Linked DNA regions of Homo sapiens: all the other regions are linked to region 1. Evidence: promoter capture Hi-C in 16 types of primary human blood cells and fetal thymus (Javierre and others, 2016). All regions are on one chromosome and are shown on one strand. The core of a region is centred on a gene start or on the middle of the fragment in contact, and the rest is flanking DNA. Distances in the headings are between cores, read along the strand shown.

Region 1 (4,014 bases), core at 764-3,263:
CTCAGAAAAATCTCTTTAAATTCCACCAGAAAACATCTGTCTTCACCTACTAAATTTTGTACCTGCTAATATGAGTTTCTTATTCCTTATGCAATTTGTGAAGAAAGCTCTATTTAGAAAAGATCATCCATGCAACAGGTGAGGAGAAGGTAAAATGGTCACAGAATTCATTTTGATGCAGTTCTCTGGGCTGGTATTAGTAATTAAGAAATGGGATCATGGCCTTGGGGAAGGTCACAGATTAACCATTAGTAGGACAAGAAATCTGAAATCAGATTTGGGGGTCACTAATAAAAGTAACGAGGAATCTTACAAACTTCAGCAAGAAATGCGAGAGGCAAGCCGCAACAGCTGCATGTGAGCAATGATTTAAAAACAGAAGCAGCAATAGAGAAAATAATTAGGGCTTCCAAGGCCCTTCTTTCATTTTTAAGAACACATAAACCATGAGGAGCGTTTAAGCTATCCTCATTGGGAGGCAGACCAAATGCAGCAAGAGGCAGTTCGGAAATAGGAAGCCTGTGGAAAAAAAAAAGAGCACAGTACCTCTTGGCGCTGGTGGAGAGGAGTTTGGAGTTTTTGCTCATGCTGACTTTACTCTCCTTCTTCTTGGGGGTGTTTGTTTCTTTCTCGGTTTGCTGGTTGGAAGACGAAGATGAGGAGGAGCTGGTGCTGGCCCTCGAATCGTCATCCGACATAGCGAACCCCCCACCCCACCCCGCAAACAGCCCCTGCAGGGGGAGAGAAACAAAACAGAAACACACAAACCATGCAGCCAGTGTAAATAAGGAACTCGGGTGCTGTCAGGAGGGCATTGACCAGGGGCGCACGCGGCCGCCCACCGCCCTCCACTCGCTTTTCAAAGTCTGCAGGCCCATTAAGGCTTTTGCAAATCGGACGCGGCTTGTTTATTTTTGGCCCCAAGTGGGGAACGCTGTGGGAAAACGGTCTGGAGCTAGGAGAGAGGCCCCTCCCTCGCCCCCCGGGGCTCTCCGCTGGGCAGGGAGGGAGTAGCCCGGGAGGCGAAGGAGGGCAGGGCGGGGGGCGCGGGGCGCCACGGCGGGGCAGGGAGGGAAGGTCCCGGCGGCCGGCCGGCCTCGGGGCTGTTTTTGTCCGCTTTCCGGGGGTCGTGAGGGGCCGGTGGCCCGGGTGAGACTGTGGGGCCACGAGCGGAGTTTGGCGAGGTCGGGAAGAGAGGAGGGGCGGGAAGGAGTAAGAGAGGAAGCCGAAACAGGGGGACGGAGGCGGGGAGCGGGTGCCCGGGTGGGGGAAGGGAGAGGCCGGCGGGGGGCAGGGGCGACGAGGCCCGAGGCCCCCCCGCGCCGCGCCCCGACGCCCCTCCCGGCCTGCCTGCCTCTGGCCGCCCTGCTCACAGCTATGCGGCCGGGCGGGGGTCCGGAGCACACGCCCGATCGCCACTCCTGTAGGGGGATAGGGGCTGCGGCGGGGAATGGGGGGGTCGGCCTCCGCAGCGAAGACATAACAATGAGCCCTTCCGCCCCGGAGGGGTTAATCCCCGCGAACCCCCGCCCCTGGGGAAAACGGGGCTCCCCCAACTCCCTCCCACCCCCGCTCCCGGGCCCCTCGGTGGCCAGTGGGGGGCTCTTGGGGCAGCGCTGACAGTTCGAGCCACAATGACCCCCGTCCTCAATGCGGGCGGCCCCCGCACCCCACGCGGCCCGGGGTCCCTGCCCATCCCCCGCGGGCGGGCCCCGGACCCCTGGGGCTCCCCAGCCCCTCTCCGCTCCCCCCCCGCGCCGGCCCCGTGCCCTGCGGCCCGGCGGCCCCGGCGGCGCGAGTCGGGGGAGGCGGCGAGGGGTGTCCCCGAGGCCCGGCGGCGCGGCCGGGGGGCGGCGGGCCGCTGGGGGGATCCCCGTACCTCTCTTTGTGTCTGGCTCCTCCGTGCCGCCGCGGCGGCTGCTGCTGCGGCTGCGGCTGGGCCTGGCCACTCGTGTCTCTCTCTCGCTGGGAGAGAAGCGGAAGTGCAGCAACAGCAACTATTAAACAGGCAATGGCTTCCCCCAGCCACACACGCTCGCACACACACCACTCCTCCGCCGCCGCCTCCTCCTCCTCCTCCTCCTCGCCCTCACCCCTCCCCCACCCGGCCCGGTCCCACCCACCCGCGCTCCCCTCCCCCTGCAACACCTCCTGGGGGTGCGCGAGGAAGACCCAGGAGACCCCAGGAAACCCTGTCCCCCACAGACACCCCCACCCCAGCGCCTCCTCCGGACGCCCGGGAAGGGGGCGAGGGTTGTGAATTTTCTCTTAAGTGGTTTGGGAACCTGGATTCTGGGCGGGAGAGGGGAAGCCGATGGAGATGGGGGGCGCTGGGAGTGATTGGAACTAGATGGAATAGGGGGGTCACGAGAGAAAGTTCTTTCCAATGAGGGCTTTTGGAAAGGAGAGGAGTAGGGAGGTGGCAAATTGGTGAAAACGTTGGTAATCTGGTGGTGGCAAAGACTTTAGAGAATGCAGCGGGTACTCCACCTAAAAAGCGATTAAAGAGAAAAAAAAAATCACACAACAAGGGTTTTCTTTGGACTGACACTTGCTTCTCCTTCTAGCAATTTACCTGCTAGGAGCAGAGGTCAGTTTAGGTATGCCTGTGAGAAAATCCCAAACTAGGAATTTTCTGCTCAGGTCACGCGAGGCACGTGCAGTTTTACAATATTAGATTCTTCCACTCACTTTTTATAGAAAGTGATGTGGTTTTTTATAAGAGTGATACAAAGGTTTTGGTGACAGGTAAAACCAACGTGTAACGGGCTTGCGAATGTGAGACATCACTGGGAATAAGCTATATACTACTGAATTAGACTGGATTTAGAATTTTTTGTGTCATTTTACATTAGATGTAAGGTTTGGTTTTTGGAAATTGGATGCAAAGTTCTGGGGATCGCAGAATCCCCAGATCGCTAAATTGACCAAATTATTTTTAAAATATTAAGCCATTTTTCTCTTTCTTTAGCTACCTATAAATGCTATGCAAATAATATTTTTGAAATGATCAGCAATTCTTCTGAATTGTTCCTTATTTAGCATTTTTGCCAATTTTTTTTTAATATTAAGCCATCAAATTACGATTCAGTTTCTCACCTTTTGTCATTTCAGTTGAAGGGAACTAAAGAGATGTGTGCCATTCAAATACAACAGTGCCACACATACAAGGTCTTGTACATTAAGGAGACAGCCTCAGATTTCCATAGGTCACTCTAAATTATCTCATTCAAACTGCCATCATTTTCCACAGCAACAGTGGCTTCAGTTACCACAGGACAACACAAGATATACAGCCCATGGCATATCCAGTAACCAGGAAAACAAGCATTCTCACGACCCAGCCGAACTCCTTCTAACCATCAACCTGAAATTCCAGCTTTATCAAGACTCATAAAGTAATTGTGCATGCTTCTTGCTCAATCCCTACCAGGAAACCTGTATCTACCAGGAGTTGTCATAGAATAAGAAGTTCAAAAGCTGGAAGAAATCTTCAGGGTCATAATTTCAGCCTCCTGCTTCCAGACAGAACTATTTCTCCACCACTGAAATGCATATAGATTTTGAAAAAATTTCCAGACATAACCTTTCTTAAGTGTTTGGTTTCAGGAGTCCTGGTAGAGTATATAAAAATGATGACATTCTTTGCTATATATTTGAAAAAATTTTTTAAACTTCTGAAAAACTGATTGTATTCTTTTTGTTCTGATGAAAAGATGTAAATTCAGAAGAAAACAATAAGAAGATGAAATAAACTCAGGATGAGGAAAATAATCTAAAAATAGTTATTAAAATTGAAATTTCCTCCTATGAAAATTTGGATTTCTGATACTTAAAAATATATGTCTACATTATGAATACAACCAGTAAAAAAATCATGTGTTATAAAGACAAGAACTAGCAGAGATCACAGGAAAATAAAAGGTTTGATTTGCTGAAGTGATCAGGACAGTAGGTGAATTTTTTCTTTAATATTGGTTTGCATAAATTGCCTACCAGCTATAATAAGAATTC
Region 2 (3,904 bases), core at 484-2,983, 840 kb after region 1:
TCAGTCTGATAAAGAAAGGGGATAAAGCTATGGTAACCAGAGTAAAAAGTACCGTTAAAACTTTTGTTTACACATGGGTTGCAAACTGAAATATAAATAGGAGAGAGAGAGGCACTGTAAATAAATGAGGTAGGCTGGCTTTGACTCTGAAAATTGGGAGAGCATGAACCCTGTGCTAAGAGTGTAGTCACTCTTTGCTCCTGATAACACGGATCAAGTATTTTCAAGAGAGGCTGTAAAATAAAAAAATTGTAAGAATTTTCAGTCAGGTGCACGGGACTCACATCTGTAATCGCAGCACTTTGGGAGGCTGAGGCGGGAGGATTGCTTGAACCCAGGAGTTTGAGACCAGCTTGGGCAACAGAATGAAACCCTATCTCTAGAAAAAATTAAAAATCTAGCCAGGTACGGCAGCATGTTCCTATAGTCCCAGCTAATTTGGAGGTTTAGGTGGGAGGATTGCTTGAGTCCAGGAGGTTGCAGTGAGCTGTGATTGTGCCACTGCACTCCAGCCTCGGAGTAGAGAGCAAGACCCTGTCTCAAGAAAAGAAAAAAAAAAGAATTTTCCAAGAGTTTGCAGTATTGGCAATTAAATAAAATATTTAAAATAATACTAGGTGGTCCATGGACCACCAGACGGTGACCTCCATCAGAAGGCAGGTCCCAAGAACCAAAATGTCTAATGGCCAACACTGTCCCTGAGGATAAATCTCATCCCATCCGATATGTTATAATTTGCAGAATCATAAATGTTCAAGGTTATTGTAATTTGGATTCACTTCCCACCCATCTGAAATTTATATTCCCATTGCAACATCTCTGCCTAATTGTCTTCCAGCTCATAACTGAACATCTCCAGAAATGGGAGACTCAGTATATTATGAGGTATAGCTTATGGCATCTTTTGTGTCCTCTAATTGTTAGAAAGTTCTCTCTGTATTTGAAGTAAAGTCTACCTTCCCATAGTGATTCATTCACTTTGCTTCTCCCCTTCCCCCACTGTGGAGCCATATGGGAGTGGGCTGATACCCTATAACCACTTTTCTAGAGCTGGTGATCAATTGACCTAATAGCAAATAGTAGATTGTGTGTGTGTGTGTGTGTGTGTATTCCTGCTTAGCTATCCCCTCTCATACTTCCTGACCCTCCTCCTTTTCGGGCAATAGCACCTTGCTGTGAGTAGTCTGTGTATAAGAAGGCCACAGATCACAATATCCTGTTCTTTGCCTCCCAGCCTCCACCAAGCTACAGCGAATCCAAGGATGGCCATTAGAACACCCCATTCTTCAGACTTTGGAAATTGGCCCAGAGATGTGAGGATGTGCCGCAAACTGGGCCCCTTGGAATCCTTACTATAGATTTAACATGGAGTGCCGTAAGAGAAAAATGGTGTTTGTCCTCTGGGAATAGGAATGTCTGTAGCCATGTCTTAGTCCATTTGGGCTGCTATAACAAAATACCATAGACTGAGCACCTTATAGACAGCAGAAATTTATTTCTCACAGTTCTGAAGGCTGGAAAGTTTAAGATCAAGGTGCTGGAAGATTCCGTGTCTGGTGAGGGACCACTTTCTGGTTCATGGGTGGCTTCTTCTGGCTGTGTCCTCACACAGCAGAAGGGGTAAGGCAGCTCTCTGGGGCCTCTTTTGTAAGGGCGCTAATGAAACCATGCCCTGAAGAATTAAAGAAACCTGTGACTAACATAAAATATTGAGTTGCAGGATAGCAGTTAAGAAAAGAAACAACTTGCTGAAATTCTGAAAATCCCTCCATTTAAAAGGTAACAAAACTAGCTGAAATTAGTTGGGAGCAATGTGGCTGACTGGAGTTTGTGCAGAGTGAGCTTGCTGATGTCACAGCCTGAATTTCCACCACATTTCATACTAACTCCCCCCGAATTTGCACATGGGCCCCAAGAAAGAGGCATGAAGAGAGAACCACGCATGCCTGAGGACTTTCCAGACCTCCCCTTTCCTTCCACCAATCACCTGCTAATCTCGGAATCCACCCGCTAAACCTTTTCTAATAAAATAACTGCCTTAGCCCCAGCCCAGGGAGACAGATTTGAGCTTGACTCCTGTCTCTTTGGGAGTCTACTTGCAGTAAAAAGTCTTTCTTTTCTCAAAAACCCGGTGTCAGAGTATTGACTTCTAGCGCATCTGGTAGTGAGCTCCTTTGCCACGGTGACACCAATCCCTAATCACCTTCCACAGGCTCCACCTCCTAACACCATCGCATTGGGGATTAGATTTTAACATAGGAATTTTGGGGGGACACGGACATTCAGAGCGTAGCAGGCCATTTGCTTCTGACCCTAAACCCAGCTACATAGAACAAGGTGTCTATTCAGGAAAGAGTGAGGATACAGTTCAGAAAGTAGCAGAGCAGACAGAGAGGGAGAGAGGAAGAGAAAGAGAGAGAGAGAGAGAGAGAGACAGAGAGAGAGAGAAAGAGAGAGAGACAGAGAGAGAGAATGAACATTGATTTCCTGTGGCCCTCTTCATCCTTGCATTTTTTAGTTATGAAAAAATGCTTGCACTAGTTTGAGTTGAATTCCTGTCATTTACACCAGAAAGATCCTGACTGATCTCCTGAACTATGTTGGAGATCATGTTTACACAGTCCATGCAAAACTATAGTTTCAGTGCTGCTGAAAATGGTTTAAATTTTTATATCTTTTTGTATATCACTATTCAGATAATTTAAAATGTTTTTAAATCACGTCATCTGTAGTGACTTGTATATTAATTTCATATTTCTAATATGTTTAAGTTATCCTGTGCTTTAGATATATCATATTCATTATCACTCTTGAGTATTTCTGTTTTCTGTGGTTTTATTCTATTTTTGTTGCAAATATTTTTGCATCTTATGAATCTGTTACTCAAACTAATGCTACCACAAAATTGGTTTCCATTTTTTAGTGACCTATCCCTCTTTTGACAGTAACAGCAAAAAGATGAGATGGCTATGACTGAAATGTTCTATGGTTTATACGTCATAAAGCAATAACACATCATAGAATAATGCTCTATGTTCCCAATATTATGGTTACTTGTTTGCAAGTAACTGCAGGCATTTATGCTTTTTCTTTATGTTACTACCACTCTCATGAGTTGTGACCAGCAACAAAATTCTATAGCAGTCTGCCTTATAGCTATTTCAAAGCAAGTCTTTGTGGTTAAGTACAATTTCCTATAGGAATCACACCCAGGGTAGTCCAGTAGGCTGTGTCAGCAACATGAGCGTGGCATTAGTAGAATTTTAAATGTGTTATTCCACCTTGCATAGTTGTTTATTGTCATTCATGCTCTGGGGTCATTTGTAGGTTTCAAACATTATCCATCAGGATATTCCTACCTGTCCAAGGGAAGGTATCACTACTATGGTGACCTCTGTCTGACTGGCCCCATCAAATTCCCAGATTCTTTATTAGGTGCCAGCCCAACTGCTGCTACTTGGAAATTCTAAATGCACTAGAAGTACATTGGGAATAATAAGTGGAGCTTAGAAGAAAGATACATAGAATTACGGTGGTAGAGGTTTAACTTTATCTGTAGGTAACACAACTTAGCTCTCTCCAGAGCTGAACAGGCTCTTCTCCCTTCTAGCTCATAATATGCATGGAATATCTCATGGCATGAAAGCTTTCTACACATCAAAATGGGTTGAAAATGAGATTTTTTTTTTGAATAAATGTGCCTTCTGAGAGCGATTTTCCAAAGCTGTAATTCTTCTTAACTGAGGGATACAACAGTTAGAAATTCCCTAATGCCCAACTGGTTGGGTTTCTCTCTAATTCAAGTTGTCAGTCACCAACCAATGAACGAATGAAGATAACAATTATTTATATTTGTCTCTTCCACAGAAGATGAATATGTCCTAACTCATTTTTCTACTGAGAA
Region 3 (3,995 bases), core at 931-3,430, 740 kb after region 1:
GTATATCAGCCAGTATTACTGCTGAATAGAATTGGAGAAGCAGAACTGTTGAGCCAAAGGTCATACACACCTTACATTTCGGTAGATTTCGGCAAGTTGCCAAAGGCTGTTTAGCAAACATGAGGTTTTATTCTCTTGCAAAATTATGAGAAAGGTTTTATTAAAAAGTTAGATTATAACCTATACAAAGGTCATCTTTCAAACTGATCAAATTTAGGTCCTCGGAGTTTAGAAATTTAGCCAACCCTAAGTTGTTTGCGTATGTGTTACTGAGACACAGCAGGGACTCCTCTGAGGGGCCTGCTGGGCCCGCTCAAGCATAAAAATGAAGGCAAATCTTGAGTTTCTTCAAGGAAAATTCCAGGTACCTAGCTAGCTTTGAAAAATAAATGAGCAACCTGACAAGCAAGAAGGTAACAATAGCTTGAAACAATAGCCAAGGAAGTTAGAGCCACAAAATGTTTAGTTCCCTATAGAAACTAAAGATAACACCTTAACACATATCCTTGAGTTGTTTTTCAGAAACCTGGACACCTACCAAATAGAAAATGCCATCCATTGGCACATAGACCTCAGATAAAGGGGAACTGAGGACTGAACTCTGACTTCTGTTCTTTGTTCTCAATTTCTTCCTGAGGGACCTGGAGGAAGTTATGCCCACAGGCCAGAGCTTAACATTCCTTTCGACTGACCCCAAGTTTTTAGACAAAGCTTTACTTCCTTAATCAATTGCAAATCAGGGAATCTTTGAATATACATGACCAGTAAGCTCCCCTGCTTTAAGATATCCTGCCTTTTAAAGCCAAACCAATGTATAACTTCCATGTATTGATTTATGATTTTGCCAGTAACTTCTACTTTTCTGAAATTTACATCTGCCTTTAAAAACCCTTGATTGTAAGCCATCCAGGAGGTTGGGTCTTAAGTGTGAGCTGTCGGATTCTCCTTGCTTGGTGTCCTGCAAATGAATGCCCTTGTTTCTCCTGCTATAAAACCTCAGTGTGGATATTTGGTATTACCATGCTGAGTGGGCAGACCTGAGTTCAGTTCCATTACATTAACTGCTTTTCCCGCTTTATCTCTAACAATTTCAGTGCCCTGCCTTTCTGCATCCTTCCTTTGCCCTGGGGTTTGTAACTCAACTTCTGCCTCCCTGAATTCCAGTTTGCCAGAAATGCTAACAGATTTTAGTCAGGAGAGTAAAAAAGTTAAAATATTACTTACAGAAATTAATTATATGTGGTTTTTAAAATTAAGCATGACATTGCTTCCTTTCATGAACATACGTAATTGTATTGGTTCATTCTCATATTGCTATAAAGAACTATCTGAGACTGTATAATTTATAAAGAAAAGAGGTTTAGTTGGCTTATGTTTCTGCAGGCTATACAGGAAGCATGGCTGAGGAGGCCTCAGGAAACTTACAATCATGGTGGAAGGCAAAGAGGAAAGAGTCATGTCTCACATGGCCAGAGCAAGAGGAAGAGAGAAGGGGGAGGTCCTACACATTTTTAATAACCAGATCCCATGGGAACTCACTCACTATCATGAGAACAGGAAGGGGGAAGTCAGTTCCCATGATCCAGTCACATTCTACCAGGCCCCTCCTCTAACACTGGAGATTACACTTTGACATGAGATTTGGATGGAGACACAAATCCAAACCATATCAATAACCAATAACAGTTATAATCCTTTATAAAACCAAGTGATCTAATATCAAGGTTGAATTGAAAATGTTATAAAGTTGTTTTACAGTTTATAGAACATGCTTGTGTTTGGTCTGTGAATATAATCACAAAATTTTAAAGATGGAAAGAATGCTATAGAGCATTTGGTCCACTCTCTTCTTTTGTAGATGTGAAAACTGATTCTCAGAGTTTGATATAATGACTGAAATCACATAGCTGATAACTGGCACAAGGGTTAAGTACCAGTTTTCTGACTTTTTAAACTACTCCTTCCTGCTTCATGTCTGTACTATCTCAAAGGTCTATAGGCTGTGTCATGGAACAAGTCATGTTATTAAACTACAAGTTGGGAGGTGGTGATTCAGGGTAGGATGGTTGAAATAAAAAATTATTTCTAGTATATAATGAAGAAAAGTTTGTGTAACGTGACTGTGTAAATGATTTATACCAAGCCCCTAACCAGGAAATATACTGATAAATTGTGTACTTCTCTTTTGATTGATGGGAACTACGTGAAAAAGCCCAATAATACGATGAGTATTAAAAATATCTTAACATCATGGGAGCCCCTGAAACTTTTGTGCAAGTTATAATTCCTTCATGCATCATATGTATATCCAATTTTGCTGTATTTAGAAATGATTAGATTTTCCTAGATAATTTGTGAAGTGGAAACTTGGATAATTAAGTTCCTAATTCTCTTTGCAGTGGCGTAATTCAAACTAAGATTGTACCAATCAGCTTTTATAATTGAAATAAACAATTCTTTGAGTGCTTATGCCATAATGAGGAATAATAACATATAATACATTATTAGTGCCAATTCCTCTCACCCCCACCAAATCATTCATATTTTGCTTAAAAAAATGTATTTTTGCTGGCTAACACGGTGAAACCCCGTCTCTACTAAAAATAAAAAAAAATTAACCAAGCGTGGTGATGGGCATCTGTAGTCCCAGCTACTCGGGAGGCTGAGGCAGGAGAATGGCACAAACCTGGGAGGTGGAGCTTGCAGTGAGCTGAGATCGCGCCACTGCACTCCAGCCTGGGTGACAGAGTGATACTCCATCTCAAAAAAAAAAAAGTACTTTTGTGTTAAGTTGGATGTGGGTGTATACAACATTCCAGAAGCTCAGAAAATTTCACATAGAATCCTCAAGTTTGAATGCAAATAGACTATATCTGTAACTTCTTCATGACTGGTGGGATCACTTGCAGAGAATATTAGGAGTTGGAAAACGTACATGGGTATGGGAGAAAATTTTGTAGCATGGCAGGAATAACTTGGCTATGAGTCTGGTCTTTAAGAGAAAGAGGATGGCTTGTCAGTGAAAAGATAGTTTCTATCCCACTGAGTCTTGGGATTTGCTCCTGACTGGGATTGATGTGTTTATTGAAGGGGATCCATCTGATTAGTGAGTGGCAGCAGCAGGAGTTTCAATCAATGGTGATACCATAATTGGGGTGGCTCCAAGTCTTCAGCTGGTGGTGGGCTCAAGAAAGTAGATAATCAATAACTGGGCAGATGGACAGGTCCCAACTAGGTGATTCTCAACCCTCTCCCACCCAATTTCCTCCATTTCAAACAAATATTTTGTTACACTTAACATTTATTGATAATCTACCTACAAACATAATTTAAAAAATCAGTATGCTCTAATTATAAAACAGAGAAGTAAAAGTAAATAATACTATTTATTTTTAATATATAATGCTTGTACAGAAATACACTGGAACAGTGCTTCTCAAACTTGACTGTGCATACAGATATCCAGAGATCCTGTTAAAAAGCATATTCTGGTTCAGTGGGTGTGGGATGGGCCTTGAGATTTCACATTTCTCACAAACTTCCAGGTGATGCTGATGCTGTTGGCACGTGGAATACACTTTGTGAGTAGCCTGGTCCTAGAGGACATAATGAAGAAATCAGAGCATTGCACTGAGAAAGAGAAAGCTTATGAATAGAACTGGACACAGGTGTGCTGAATTGGCAATTGAATTACCAGAAGTGTTGTTGCCATTATTCATGTGATTTTTTTTTAGGCAATTCGCGAACAATTCTTAGTAAAATTGTGATCAAAACAAAGTCTATTTTTCCCTTGATTTGCACAGTAGTTGCATTCCTACAAAAATACTTTGTGTTCATGTGTGAAATGAAGTTAACCTCTAGGCTCAGATTTATACACACATTTTTCACCTAACAGAATGTCCAGTGGAATACTTGACATTTTAATGGAATGTATGCATTCTTTATGTGCGGGACTATCCCATGGATGTCAGGACAATTAGCATCTGTGACTCCTG
Region 4 (3,927 bases), core at 1,287-3,786, 770 kb after region 1:
TACCTGATCTCCAAATGATTCAGGCAGAAAAATGGCAAAATTTAAAACTCAGATAGCAATGGATCATTATCAATATCATATGCATTCCAAAGGCATAAAGCATTCATTTTATAAATTTATGTTTTCCTTACAAATTTAAATTGTATGTAATTGTTTTGAATTGGTTCAATGACAACAAAATGAATTAAGCCTGCTTTTTCATGTCATTGAATGAAGGAGTACCTAGCTTGTGTGCTGTCAAAATATCTCTTTTCTTTTCTTTTTTTTTCTCTTCTCTTCTCTTCAAGATGGAGTTTCGCTCTTGTTGCCCAAGCTGGAGTGCCGTGGTGCAGTCTTGGCTCACTGCAACCTCTGCTTCCTGGGTTCAAGCAATTCTCCTGCCTCAGCCTCCAGAGTAGCTGGGATTACAGGTGCGTGCCACCATGCCTGGCTAATTTTTTTGTATTTTTAGTAGAAACAGGGTTTCACCATGTTGGCCAGGCTGGCCTCAAACTCCTGACCTCAGGTGATCTGCCCACCTCAGCCTCCCAAAGTGCTGGGATTACAGGCGTGAGCCACTGCGCCCAGCCAAAAATATCACTTTTCTAGACAAGGCAGAATAATGTGGAAAATATATATGTGTTGAAAATCAGACCTGAGTTTCAAGTCTTCCTCTGCCCCTTAATAACTGGGAGACCTTGACAAAGTTCCTTCACCTAAGGCTCAGTTTCTTCTCCTGTAAAAATCAGGATAATTTCTGCTTCATATAGTTGTTCTGTGAATAAAAAAATGCTATTTATAGAAAATGCTTACTATTGCCTGGTACATAGTGGGAGTTCAAAAAATGGTGGCTATTTTAGTAGCTAAAGTACTCATATAATTATTAGAACTTTAAAAATCAATAACATGTTTAGTAGGAAACTTAATGAGCGAGGAATAGCTGAAAAAAGCAAGAAAGTAGATACATTTTATATTTTGGCCTAAATGGAGATATTAAAGAAAAGAGAAAGTTTCCTTTGAGAGAAAAAATGAAAAGCAAGGCATTTCTTAGTGGATGGAGGATTTCTGTGCAAGGAGCAGTCCTTGCATCCACCTTTTGGGTGGTGCTGGATTTACCATCTTCATGGTTCCACAGCAAGTGATTTTACCCATCAACCTTGTGTATGTGATGTCATTTACCACTTCCTAGTTTAAACAAATAGTTTTCCAGCAGGACAATATGCACATTGCTCTATTGTACTAAATTTGTTTCACATTCCAAATTGGCAGGAATTTCTCCATGTGCTTGGGTATAATAGCATTTCTTGATATGATAATTATCATCTAGTTGTCTATATTTATGTATCTACCTAACTACAAGAGAAAATTTGCAGCAGAATATCTGTCTTTTCATTTTTGCTTTTTACTCTTATCATACTATAAAACACTTTCATAATAGTTTAAATAATTTCCTGGGGGAGTTAATTTGGCTAAGTCATCGTTCTTTTTTTGGTGCTTCAGTTTCTCTTTGACTCTCATGGAATGTTTGCTTTTGCCCTTTGGGTGTTTAAAGACCACATTTTGTAGCCCCAGTGTTCTTTCTAATTATAGAAGTGACATAAGAAAAACGGAAAGTAAGTAAGAAGTGGAGAACAGAGTCATTAAGGGAGAGTCTAGATCAGAGAGATGTCAAAGAGTTTCGTTGGGTATTTAAGGAAATTAATGAATAACTCATCTGGGACTTAGAGATAGTGACTTAAGTCGTAATTAATCCATTGATATAGCACAAAATAAAAAAAATACTGTATTTAGAAAAAAATAGTATGGTAGAAATACTGGGCATAATTCTTATAAATATAGACTTCACCTTAGTATTCTTGAGAGAAGTCAGACAAGGGGAAGAGTACTCTATGAAAATTAAAAAAAAATTCCATGGAAGTGTTAAAATGTGAAGAAGAAAATTTAATGATTAATATAGTAGAGGGAAGGGATCCATTCCAAGATGGCCGAATAGGAACAGCTCCAGTCTGCAGCTCCCAGCGTGATTGATGCAGAAGATGGGTCCAACCAGTTTGGACAGTGTGTACAGCCCATGGAGCATGAGCCGAAGCAGGGTGGGGTGTCGTCTCACCCAGGAAGTGCAAGGGGTTGGGGGATTTCCCTTTCCTAGCCAAGGGAAGCCAGGACAGGCTGTACCTGGAAAAACGGGACACTCCTGCCTGAATAATGCACTTTTCCCAAGGTCTTAGCAACTGGCAGACAAGGAGATTCTCCCTTATGCCTGGCTTGGCAGGTCCCACGCCCATGGAGCCTTGCTCACTGCTATTGCAGCAGTCTGAGATCAAACTTCGAGGTGGCAGCCTGGATGGGGGAGGGGCGTCCACCATTGCTGAGGCTTGAATAGGTAAACAAAGAGGCCAGGAAGCTTGAACTGGGTGGAGCCCACCACAGCTCAGCACAGCTTACTGCCTCTATAGACTCCACCTCTGTGGGCAGGTCATATTTGAACAAAAGGCAGCAGACAGCTTCTGCAGACTTAAACGTCCCTGTCTGACAGCTTGAAGAGAGCAGTTGTTCTCCCAGAGCAGTGGTTGAGCTCTGAGAATGAGAATGGACAGACTGCCTCCTCAAGTGGGTCCCTGACCCCCGTGTAGCCTAACTGGGAGACAGCTCCCAGTAGGGGCCGACAGACAACTCATATAGGCAGGAGCCCTTCTGGGATGAAGCTTCCAGAGGAAGGATCAGGCAGCAATATTTGCCCTTCTGCAATATTGGCTGTTCTGCAGCTTCTGCTGGTGATATCCAGGCAAACAGGGTCTGGAGTGGACCTCCAGCAAACTCCAACAGACCTGCAGCTGAGGGACCTGACTGTTAGAAGGAAAACTAACAAACAGAAAGGAATAGCACCAACATCAACAAAAAGGACATCTACACCAAAACCCCATCTGTAGGTCACCAACATCAAAGACCAAAGGTAGATAAAACCACAAAGATGGAGAGAAACCAGAGCAGAAAAGCTGAAAATTCTAAAAACCAGAGTGCCTCTTCTCCTGCAAAGGATCGCAGCTCCTCACCAGCAATGGAACAAAGCTGGATGGAGAATGATTTTGACGGGTTGACAGAAGTAGGCTTCAGAAGGTGGGTAATAACAGACTTCTCCAAGCTAAAGGAGCATGTTCAAACCCATCACTAGGAAGCTAAAAACCTTGAAAAAAGGTTAGATGAATGGCTAACTAGAATAAACAGTGTAGAGAAGACCTTCAGTGACCTGATGGAGCTGAAAACCATGGCATGAGAACTTTGTGAGGCATGCACAAGCTTCAATAGCCGATTTGATCAAGTGGAAGAAAGGGTATCGTGATCGAAAATCAAATTAATGAAATGAAGCGAGAAAACAAGGTTAGAGAAAAAAGAGTAAAAAGAAATGAACAAAGCCTCCAAGAAATATGGGACTATGGGAAAAGACCAAATCTACGTTTGATTGATGTATCTGAAAATGATGGGGTGAATGGAACCAAGTTAGAAAACACTCTTCAGGATATTATCCAGGAGAACTCCCCCAACCTAGCAAGGCAGGCCAACATTCGAATTCAGGAAATACAGAGAACACCACAAAGATACTCCTCGAGAAGAGCAACCCCAAGACATATAATTGTCAGATTCACCAAGGTTGAAATGAAGGAAAAAATTTTAAGGGCAGCCAGAGAGAAAGGTTGGGTTACCCACAAAAGGAAACCCATCAGACTAAAAGTGAATCTGTCTGCAGAAACCAAGCCAGAAGAGAGTGGGGGCCAATATTCAACATTCTTAAAGAAAAGAATTTTCAACCCAGAATTTCATATCCAGCCAAACTAAGCTTCATAAGTGAAGGAGAAATAAAATCCTTTACAGACAAGCAAATGCTGAGAGATTTTGTCACCACCAGGCTTGCCTTACAAGAGCTCCTGAAAGAAGCACTAAATATGGAAA
Region 5 (4,385 bases), core at 1,308-3,807, 650 kb after region 1:
CCAAAAAGATCGGGGACCGCTACTATAAACCGTTCTGCCCTCGTGGGAATAGTGTATAGATACCTATATTGCCAAGACTTTATTTTCTTACCCTTTCTTATGTACTTATCAAACATACTTAGACTCCTTTCTACTTATTCTCACATCAGCTTCATGTCTTTAACCAGCTATGCAAGATTTGGAAGGTCTTTATACATTCTTGGGCTTCAGTTTACTTTGTAATGTTGGGTACCCTATCTTTAAAATCTTTATCAGCTCTAAAATTCTATAGTTCCTTATCTATGCTTCTGTTTTCTAATGCATTTGACTCTGGTCTTAATTCTTAAGCTAATCTTTTATTTAGCCTTCATTTGAGATAAATGTCACAAGCAGAGAGGGCAGGAAATGGCATCTTGATGTCTTAAGTAGAGAAATTAGAAGCTCATAAATCTCAATGAACCTTGAATTAATTAGTGGAGAAGTTACCTTTATATCATTGTGCCTCAGATGATTTGGGGTCAAAGAAGGAATACTGGGGGTATAATTATGAATGCTATACATATAAGTGCAAGGATAGTGGCAACATTTTTGATTGACTGTTATATAAAAAACACTCTTGGCATTGCAGTGCCTCTTATTAAGGTTAGAGTATTGTGAGTTTTACTAGAAGTCTGAGTGTGTTTAATGCTGGCAATACTGAAATCAACTCCATCATAAATTTAAAGTGAGGACACCATTTATTCTAGGGGCTTCTGCAAACCCAAATATAGTCATCACTTATTCCTATTTAAAACTTCATGTGTCCTAACAATATTCATACATCACTGCGGCAACATTGCCATTCAACCCTCAGGTCAGTCAGTACTTTAAAACCACGACAAAATTTCTAAATAAAAAATTATATCGATAATTGTAAGATTTGAAAGAGAAAAATAACTTTTAGATGAGAAGGAAAATGAGCTCTTTACTTTCTTCTTGCCCCATTGTTGCCTTTATTAAATAACCCTTCTGATTTCATTGTATAATGATACAATATTAGAAAATAATTGATATGGTTTGGACAATTATATAAACATTAACACAAGTTGAGACAGTTATTTTGAATAATTTCTGGATCTAATTATAAAATGCTGAAAGGAAATTATAAGCATTAAGACAAAGTTGAGACAGTTATTTTGAATTATGTCTACACTGAATCATAAAATACTGAAAGCAAATATAGACACAGGTTCATTCTTTAATGTAGAACATTATAGGCTGCTTGATGGTCAGAAAACCACAAGTTTAAGTTTATCTGCAAAGTAAGTTGTAGTAATTGTTAAGGTCAATGGTTCATATTTTAAACAATCTGAGAATGTGGTAAGTATTTAGCAAGCTAGTGTTTAAAAACACTCATAAATATGTATTCCTAGAATATAGCTATTAAAGAAAGTCTTGTCAACTTTCATGCACTTTTATGACAGATTGTTTTTCATTTGCACACAAAGGATACATGGCTGGTTCAAAGCTCAGAACAGTTCAATAGCAGTTATATGATACCATGACAAGTTCTATCCAAGCTTGTTTAAACATATTCCTCAGGGAATGCTTCAAAGAATGGCACACAGTTACAACTGGAAGAAACTGCTTTATTAATAGTTGGCAATTTTTACAAATTCCAGGCATGTTGCACAGACTCTGCTCAACCGAGCCATCGATTATAGTTAACATCCGTCTCTAAAACAAGTGCTTAAATCTTGTACAAGTATTAAAAAAAATACTTTCATGCAAGCCAAGTTTTATCTTACATAAATTATCTTACATAACTTGACGTTAAACAAAGAGGAGCAATGTGAAATATAAGAAATTCCATATCCGATTAAGAACTTGGTACTCCCTTTTACCAAAGTGTGAATAAGGGTTCCAGCTCAGGGTCTTTTCAACACCCCTCCAGGCGAGAGAGAACTTTTAATCTTCTGTTTCTCCTTTTCTCCTTCATTCTCATTTCTCCTTTCTTACCATGTATTCTATTTTCTTTCCCATGATGTTCTATTTCTCCTTCCTTTGTTGTTTATTTCCTCTTTTTTCTCCCTCCTTGCATTTATTTTCTTCCCTCCATACTCTCAATTCTCCCTTTTATCACCCTGCCAATGTCAAAATCATTACATGCTAATCGAGCCAAATAAATTGCAACTGCAAGGACATGACCTGATGTCTACAGCAGAAAATGTTTAAATTATGAATTTTCCTTTTGTTTATACAGGCAATTACAAGAAATTAAATGTTAACTTTGAAGTCAATCCTTAATCAGAGGTGTTTTTACATAAAACCACTACATATAAAATGCAGAGTGCAATTACATTAAAAAAAACTATTTCATTTCATTTACTAGTAGCCACTAATGGCTCTTTAGACTCAGCCTATTAGGTAAATGAGCAAACAGTTAGCTTATTTGTTTGAAGTATAAGTAGCAGATAATTCATGAATAAGTAAATTATACTTTCTTGCTGTGGTATATTAACAGGATGATTTTATATTATTTTATTTTTAATTGACAATAATTATACTTATTCAAAGGGTACATAATGATGTCTCCATATATATACAGTGATCAGACCAGGGTAATTAGCATGTCCATTATCTCCAATGTTTATCGTTTATTTGTTTTGGGAACATTCAATATGTTCCTCCTAGCTGTGTGAAACTGAATATTATTAACTGTAGTCATCCTACAGTGGTATAGAGTACTAGAACTTATTTCTCCTATCTAGCTGTAATTTTATAACCTTTAACAAATCTCTCCCTATTCACTCCTTCCCCCATCCTTTCCAACCTTTGGTATCTTCTGTTCTACTCTTTTACTTCTATGAGATCACCTTATTTTAGGGTCCACGTGTGAATGAGAACATGCAGGGTTTAACTTTCTGTCCCTGGTTTATTTCATATAACATAATATCTTCCTGTTCCATCTAAGTTGCTGAGAATGACTGGATTTCCTTCTTTGTTATGGTGGAATAGCCACTGTGTATATATACTACATTTTCTTTATCCATTCGTCTATTGTTGGACACCTAGGTTGATCCTGTATCTTGTGAATAGTGCTGCAATAAACATGGGGGTACAGATGTTTCTTTGGTATAATTGTTTCCTTTCCTTTGGATAAATTCCCAGTAGTCGGATTGCTGAATCATATAGTAGCTCTATTTGTAGTTTTTTGAGGAGCCTCCATACTGTTTTCCATAGTGGCTGTGGTAGTTTACATTCCTACTGACAGTGTGTAAGAGTTCCCTTTTCTCTGCATCCTTGCCAGCATTAGTTATTTTTTGTCTTTTTGATAAATAGCCATCCTAACTGGGGTGAGATGATACCTCACTGTGGTTTTGATTTCCCTGACAATTAACGATATTGATAATTTTTTCATGTATTTGTTGACTATCTGTATGTCTTCTGAGAAGTGTCTGTTCAGATCATTTGCCCATTTTTTTTAGTTGGATTGTTTGTTTTTGCTGTTGATGTTTGAGTTCCTTATATATTTTGGATATTAATCCCCTATAGGATGAGTAGTTTGCAAATATTTTCTCCAGTTCTCTGGGTTGTCTTTGCTGTGCAGAAGCTTTTTAGTTTGCTATAATCCTATTTGTTTATTTTTGCTTTTGTTGCCTATGCTTTTGAGGTCTTATTCATAAAATCTTTTCCCAGACCAAGGTCTTAAAACATTTCTTCTATGTTTTCTTCTAGTAGTTTTATCATTTTGGGTCTTATCCTTAGGTGGTTGATCCATTTTGAGTCGGTTTTTATATAGAGGAAGGGCAGGTCTAGTTTCATTCTTCTGCATACAGATATCCAATTTTCCAAGCACCATTTCACCTTTGTAAAAAAATCAGTTGGCTGTAGATACTTGGATTAATTTCTGCGTTCTCTATTCTGTCCCATTAGTCTATGTGTCTTGTTTTATGCCAGTACCATGCTGTTTTGGTTACTACAGCTTTGTAGTATACTTTGAAGTCTGGTAGTGTGACACTGCCGGCTTTATTTTTTTGGATTACTTTGGCTATTCTGGGTCTTTTGTGGGTTGACATAAATTTTAGCATTTTTTTCTGTTTCTGTGAAGATGTCATTGGTATTTTGATAGGAATTACATTCAATTGCTTTGTGTAGTATTGCCATTTTAACAATATTTATTCTTCCAATTCATGAGCATATGATGTCTTTCCATTTGACTTTTAGCCTCTTCAGTTTCTTTCATCAGTATTTTGTAGTTTCCCTTGTAGAGGTTTTTACCTCCTTGGTTAAATGTATTCCTAGGTAACTTATAAATGAAATTGCCATCTTGATTTCCTTTTCAGATAGTCTGTTGTTTATATATAGAAATGCTACCTTTTTTTTTTTTTTTTTTTTTTTGAGACAGAGTCTCACTCTGTTGCCCA
Region 6 (4,307 bases), core at 1,151-3,650, 580 kb after region 1:
TTACAGATTCAATACAATCCTTATCAAAATACCAATAACATTCTTCACAGAAATAGTAAAAAAAAAAAAAAAAAAAAAAAACCTAAAATTTACATGGAACCACAAGACTATGAATAGCCAAAGCAATCCTGAGCAAAAAGAATGAAGCTGGAGGCATCACACTACCTGACTTCAAAATTTATTACAAAGCTATAGTAATCAAAACAGCATGGTACTGGCATAAAAACAGACACATGGATCAGTGAAACAGATGAGAGAACTCAGGTATAAATCCACGCATTTACAGCCACCTTATCTTTGACAAAGGCATCAATAACACGCAATGGGAAAAGGAGAGTCTTTTCAATAAATGGTGCTGGGAAAACTGGATAACTATATATGAAGAATGAAACTAAACCCCTATCTCTCACCATACACAAAAAAAATCAAACCAAAATGGATTAAAGACTTGAATCTAAGACCTGAAACACTACAGCACAATGGTCTGGGCAAAGATTTCTTGTGTAAGATCTCAAAAGCACAGGCAACCAAAGCAAAAATATACAACTGGGATTACATCAACCTAAAAAGCTTCTGCACAGCAAAGGAAACAATCAACAAAGTGAAGAGACAACACACAGAATGGGAGAAAATATTTGCAAACTATCTATCTGACAAGGGACAAGGGATTAGTAACCAGAATATGTAAAGAGTTCAAACAACTTGACAGCAAATATATATATATAATCCAATTTAAAACAGGCAAAAGGGCCAAGCGCAGCTCACGCCTGTAATACTAGCACTTTGGGAGGCCAAGGCAGGAGGATCACTTGAGGTCAGGAGTTTGAGACCAGCCCGGCCAACACGGTAAAACCCCATCTCTACTCAAAATACAAAAATTAGCCAAGTGTGGTGGTGCATGCCTCTAATCCCAGTTATTCAGGAGGCTGAGGCAGAAGAATCACTTGAACCTGGGAGGCAGTGGTTGCAGTGAGCCAAGATCATGCCACTGCACTCCAGCCTGGGTGACACAGTGAGTCTCCATCTCAAAAAAAAAAAAAAAATACAAAAATCAGCTGAGCATGGTGGCATGTACCTGTAGTCTCAGCTACTCAGGAGGCTGAAGCAGGAGAATCACTTGAACCCAGGAGGCAGAGGTTACAGTGAGCAGAGATCACGCCACTGCACTCCAGCCTGAGTGACAGAGAGAGACAACTCAAAAAAAAAAAAAAAGGGGGGGGGGGCAAAAGATGTAAACAGACATTTCTCAAAAGAAGACATGCAAATGGCCAAAGGGTACATTAAAAAATGCTCAACATTGCTACAATGCAATATCTCACTGAGGTTAAAAAGGCTTAGATCAAACAGACGGCAATAGCGGATGCTGGCAAGGATGCGGAGAAAGGGGAAGGCTCGTACACTGTTGTTGGGATGTAAATTAGTACAGCCACTATGGAGAACAGTACAAAGGTTACTTACAAAACTAAAAACAGAACTTCCATATGATCCAGCAATTCCTATACTGGGTATATATATTTATATATTAGTCCATTTTCACGCTGCCCATAAAGACATACCTGAGACTGGGCAATTTACAAAAAGACGTTTAATGGACTCATGGTTCCACCTGGCTTGAGAGGCCTCACAATTATGGTGAAGGTGAAAGGTACGCATCACATGGTGGCAGACAAGAGAAGAATGAGAGCCAAGTAAAAGGGGTTTCCCCTTATAAAACCATCAGATCTCGTGAGACTTATTCATTACCACAAGAACAGTATGGGGGATACCACCCCCATGATTCAATTATCTCCCGCCAGTCCCTCCCACAACACGTGGGAATTATGGGAGCTACAATTCAAGATGAGATTTGGGTGGGGACATTGCCAAAGCATATCAGTATATATCAAAAAGAAAGGAGATTAATGTATCAAAGAGATATCTGCACCTCCATGTTTACCCAAGTACCATTCACAATAGCTAAAATATGGAACCAACCTGAGTGCCCATTAACAAATGAATGAATAAAGAAAATGTGGTATATACACACAATGGAATATTTAATTCAACCATAAAAAAGAATGAAATCCTGTCATGTGCAGCAACATGGATGGAACCACAGGCAAGGTTAAGTGAAATAAGCCCAGCAGAGAATGACAAATGTCACATGTTCTCACTCTTACATGAGAGCTAAAAATGTAGATCTCAAAAATAGAGAGTAGACTGGTAGTTACCAGAGGCCAGGAAGGGGAGTGGGGGGATCAAGAGGAAAAAAAGAATATAAATATATAAATGTATATTCACTGAACTTTACACTAAAAATGGTAAAGATGGTAAATCATGTATGTATATTTTACCTCAATTAAAAATATTTTTAAAAAAGAAATACTTGGGTAATCAAGTTCAAGACCAGCCTGGCCAACACGGTGAAACCCCGTCTCTACTAAAAATACAAAAATTAGCCAGGCATGGTGGCGCACGCCTGTAATTCCAGCTACTCGGGAAGCTGACCCAGGAGAATCGCTTGAATCCAGGAGGTGGAGCTTGCAGGGAGCCAAGATCACGCCATTGCACTCTAGTTTGGGCGACAAGAGCGAAACTCCGTCTCAGAAAAAAAAAAGAAGTACTAACGCATGCAGCAACATGGATGAACCTTGAAAATATTACACTTTGTAAAAAAAATTTTAAAAGCCAGACACAAAAAGCACACAAGATTTCATTTATACAAAATGTCCAGATAAGGCAAATCTATAGAAACAGAAAGTAGACTAATTGCTGCCGAGGGCTGGTGGTGAAAGAGCTGGGGGAAAATGGGGAAGGAGTGACTGCTAAAAGGCATGGATTATTTTTTGGGAGGTATCAAAATATTGCAAAACAGACTGTGATGATTACAAAACTCCGAGACTATACTAAAAACCTAAAAGTATAAGTGAATTTTACACTTTATATCTCAATAAAGCTGTTATCAAATAAAAGACAAAATTAAAAAGCAGCGCCAGTGTTCCATGAGCAGATTCTTGAAACACATAGAAATAGAAGTGTAAACTGCTAGTATAACTACATCCTCTTTTTTGGTTTACTTCCTCCTTTTACTTGTTCAATTACTAGACCAAAAATCAAAATCCAAATAAATCATTTTACCTTAGTCTTTTCTTCCAAAAAGTAATAAGGATTCTCTGTCATTCCCCTGCTCGTAAACCTAATACAAACTTTAGCAGTAGCAGATCATAATAGCATTTGAACAAGTTAGCTTCTCTGTGATACAGAGGAGCAAGTTATCCTTTGGATGATGACGATTTTAATTTTAATTTTTATCTGGAGATTTGCTGGCCCACTAGCTGCCAGTTCTCCACTAGCACCGAGGAAGTATAAATGAACACACTGACATGCACAGATCTAAGATCTTGCTTTTAACAATTTGTGAAGAACTGTGAAAGTTACAACCTGTAGTCATTTATAAGGGGCAGTGAATCTACCTGTTAGAGGTCTGTAAGGATAAAGCATCAATTTGACCCACTCTATCCATCTAAGCTGGTGTGCAAGGCACCAAGGTAACGAGCAATTCTAACCAACTGCCCAGCACCTCTAACTCAGCAGTAGTATGAAAACATTTATTGATCAGTGGATCTGTGAAGGCCTCAGGATAGAACCCTTGCAAATGTCATGGGTCAGTTATGTTAGCCAACATGACAGTTAAGGCCAAGAAAAATATATTCCACTACTTATAGGAAATACTCTAAGCATATACCAAATTTCACTCAAATGAAGTGTAATTTTCTATGCCTATGGCCCTACAGACGCTACGATTTTATGAGCAGAAATTTTTTCTTAGCTATAAAGTTTTGTTTTAAAATATTTACCCATTAAACTGTGAGTAATGTTTTTAAAAAGGATGACATATTTAACCCAACTTCAAAAATAAAACTATCTTACTGCATTTTTACTTCAAAGACAACAATAAAGTGAGAAAAAACTGAAATATGTAGAGGCAAATATCTCCTACATGAAATAATTCAATCTATTAAATCATTTGTAGGTGTTCTTTAAAATAATATTTGTTTATTCAAAACCTGAAAAAAAATTAACCAATACTATATTAGAATAACTTCCTCTAAAAATGCCTTACATAAAACTTTATCTACACTGAATGCTGTGATTCGGGGTGACTTGATAGTCTCAACTTCTTTAAATAACAGATTTGCACAACGCTTAAACACATACAGTTCCTTCAATATGATTCCAAAAGAAGCTTAACTAGATATCACCTAAGAGATGCACCAAAATTCAGAGGTTCCATCTAACCTGACAAACACACAGTATTGGGTTGTCTG

The links. Contacts are between HindIII fragments. The CHiCAGO score rates a contact against its expected background, and 5 or more counts as called.
Region 2: a contact is called between a fragment that was not itself captured here and the fragment with the promoter of UBE2E1 in region 1, in 1 of 17 cell types (M2 macrophages). The highest score is 6.3, in M2 macrophages.
Region 3: a fragment that was not itself captured here is called in contact with the fragment with the promoter of UBE2E1 in region 1 in 2 of 17 cell types (M2 macrophages and M1 macrophages); the score reaches 6.5 in M2 macrophages.
Region 4: a fragment that was not itself captured here is called in contact with the fragment with the promoter of UBE2E1 in region 1 in 1 of 17 cell types (fetal thymus); the score reaches 7.0 in fetal thymus.
Region 5: a fragment that was not itself captured here is called in contact with the fragment with the promoter of UBE2E1 in region 1 in 1 of 17 cell types (M1 macrophages); the score reaches 6.5 in M1 macrophages.
Region 6: a contact is called between a fragment that was not itself captured here and the fragment with the promoter of UBE2E1 in region 1, in 6 of 17 cell types (naive B cells, M2 macrophages, monocytes and 3 more). The highest score is 9.0, in naive B cells.

Annotation. Positions count from the first base shown.
Region 1 is chr3:23,803,954-23,807,967 of GRCh38, reverse strand. It overlaps UBE2E1 (ubiquitin conjugating enzyme E2 E1), which reads right to left and starts at 2,013. Exons shown (of 6, transcript NM_003341.5): 1 at 1,880-2,013; 2 at 547-731. The coding sequence starts at 698. UBE2E1-AS1 (UBE2E1 antisense RNA 1) reads left to right here and starts at 1,063. Exons shown (of 2, transcript NR_046652.1): 1 at 1,063-1,149; 2 at 3,254-3,944. RefSeq lists an enhancer at 498-587 and silencers at 888-1,067, 1,268-1,567, 1,758-1,887, 1,968-2,077. The HindIII fragment of the contact is 12,732 bases long and covers 1-4,014 here.
Region 2 is chr3:22,960,967-22,964,870 of GRCh38, reverse strand. No RefSeq gene overlaps it. Among named protein-coding and RNA genes, the nearest start is that of UBE2E2-DT, 240 kb to the left of the region's middle. RefSeq lists a silencer at 1,882-2,092. The HindIII fragment of the contact is 3,830 bases long and covers 1-3,648 here.
Region 3 is chr3:23,064,853-23,068,847 of GRCh38, reverse strand. No RefSeq gene overlaps it. Among named protein-coding and RNA genes, the nearest start is that of UBE2E2-DT, 140 kb to the left of the region's middle. RefSeq lists an enhancer at 80-781. The HindIII fragment of the contact is 2,934 bases long and covers 714-3,647 here.
Region 4 is chr3:23,034,553-23,038,479 of GRCh38, reverse strand. No RefSeq gene overlaps it. Among named protein-coding and RNA genes, the nearest start is that of UBE2E2-DT, 170 kb to the left of the region's middle. RefSeq lists an enhancer at 2,329-2,829. The HindIII fragment of the contact is 301 bases long and covers 2,386-2,686 here.
Region 5 is chr3:23,154,683-23,159,067 of GRCh38, reverse strand. No RefSeq gene overlaps it. Among named protein-coding and RNA genes, the nearest start is that of UBE2E2-DT, 46 kb to the left of the region's middle. The HindIII fragment of the contact is 2,033 bases long and covers 1,541-3,573 here.
Region 6 is chr3:23,219,931-23,224,237 of GRCh38, reverse strand. The region is part of intron 3 of UBE2E2 (ubiquitin conjugating enzyme E2 E2); the gene reads right to left. Among named protein-coding and RNA genes, the nearest start is that of UBE2E2, 19 kb to the right of the region's middle. The HindIII fragment of the contact is 3,655 bases long and covers 573-4,227 here.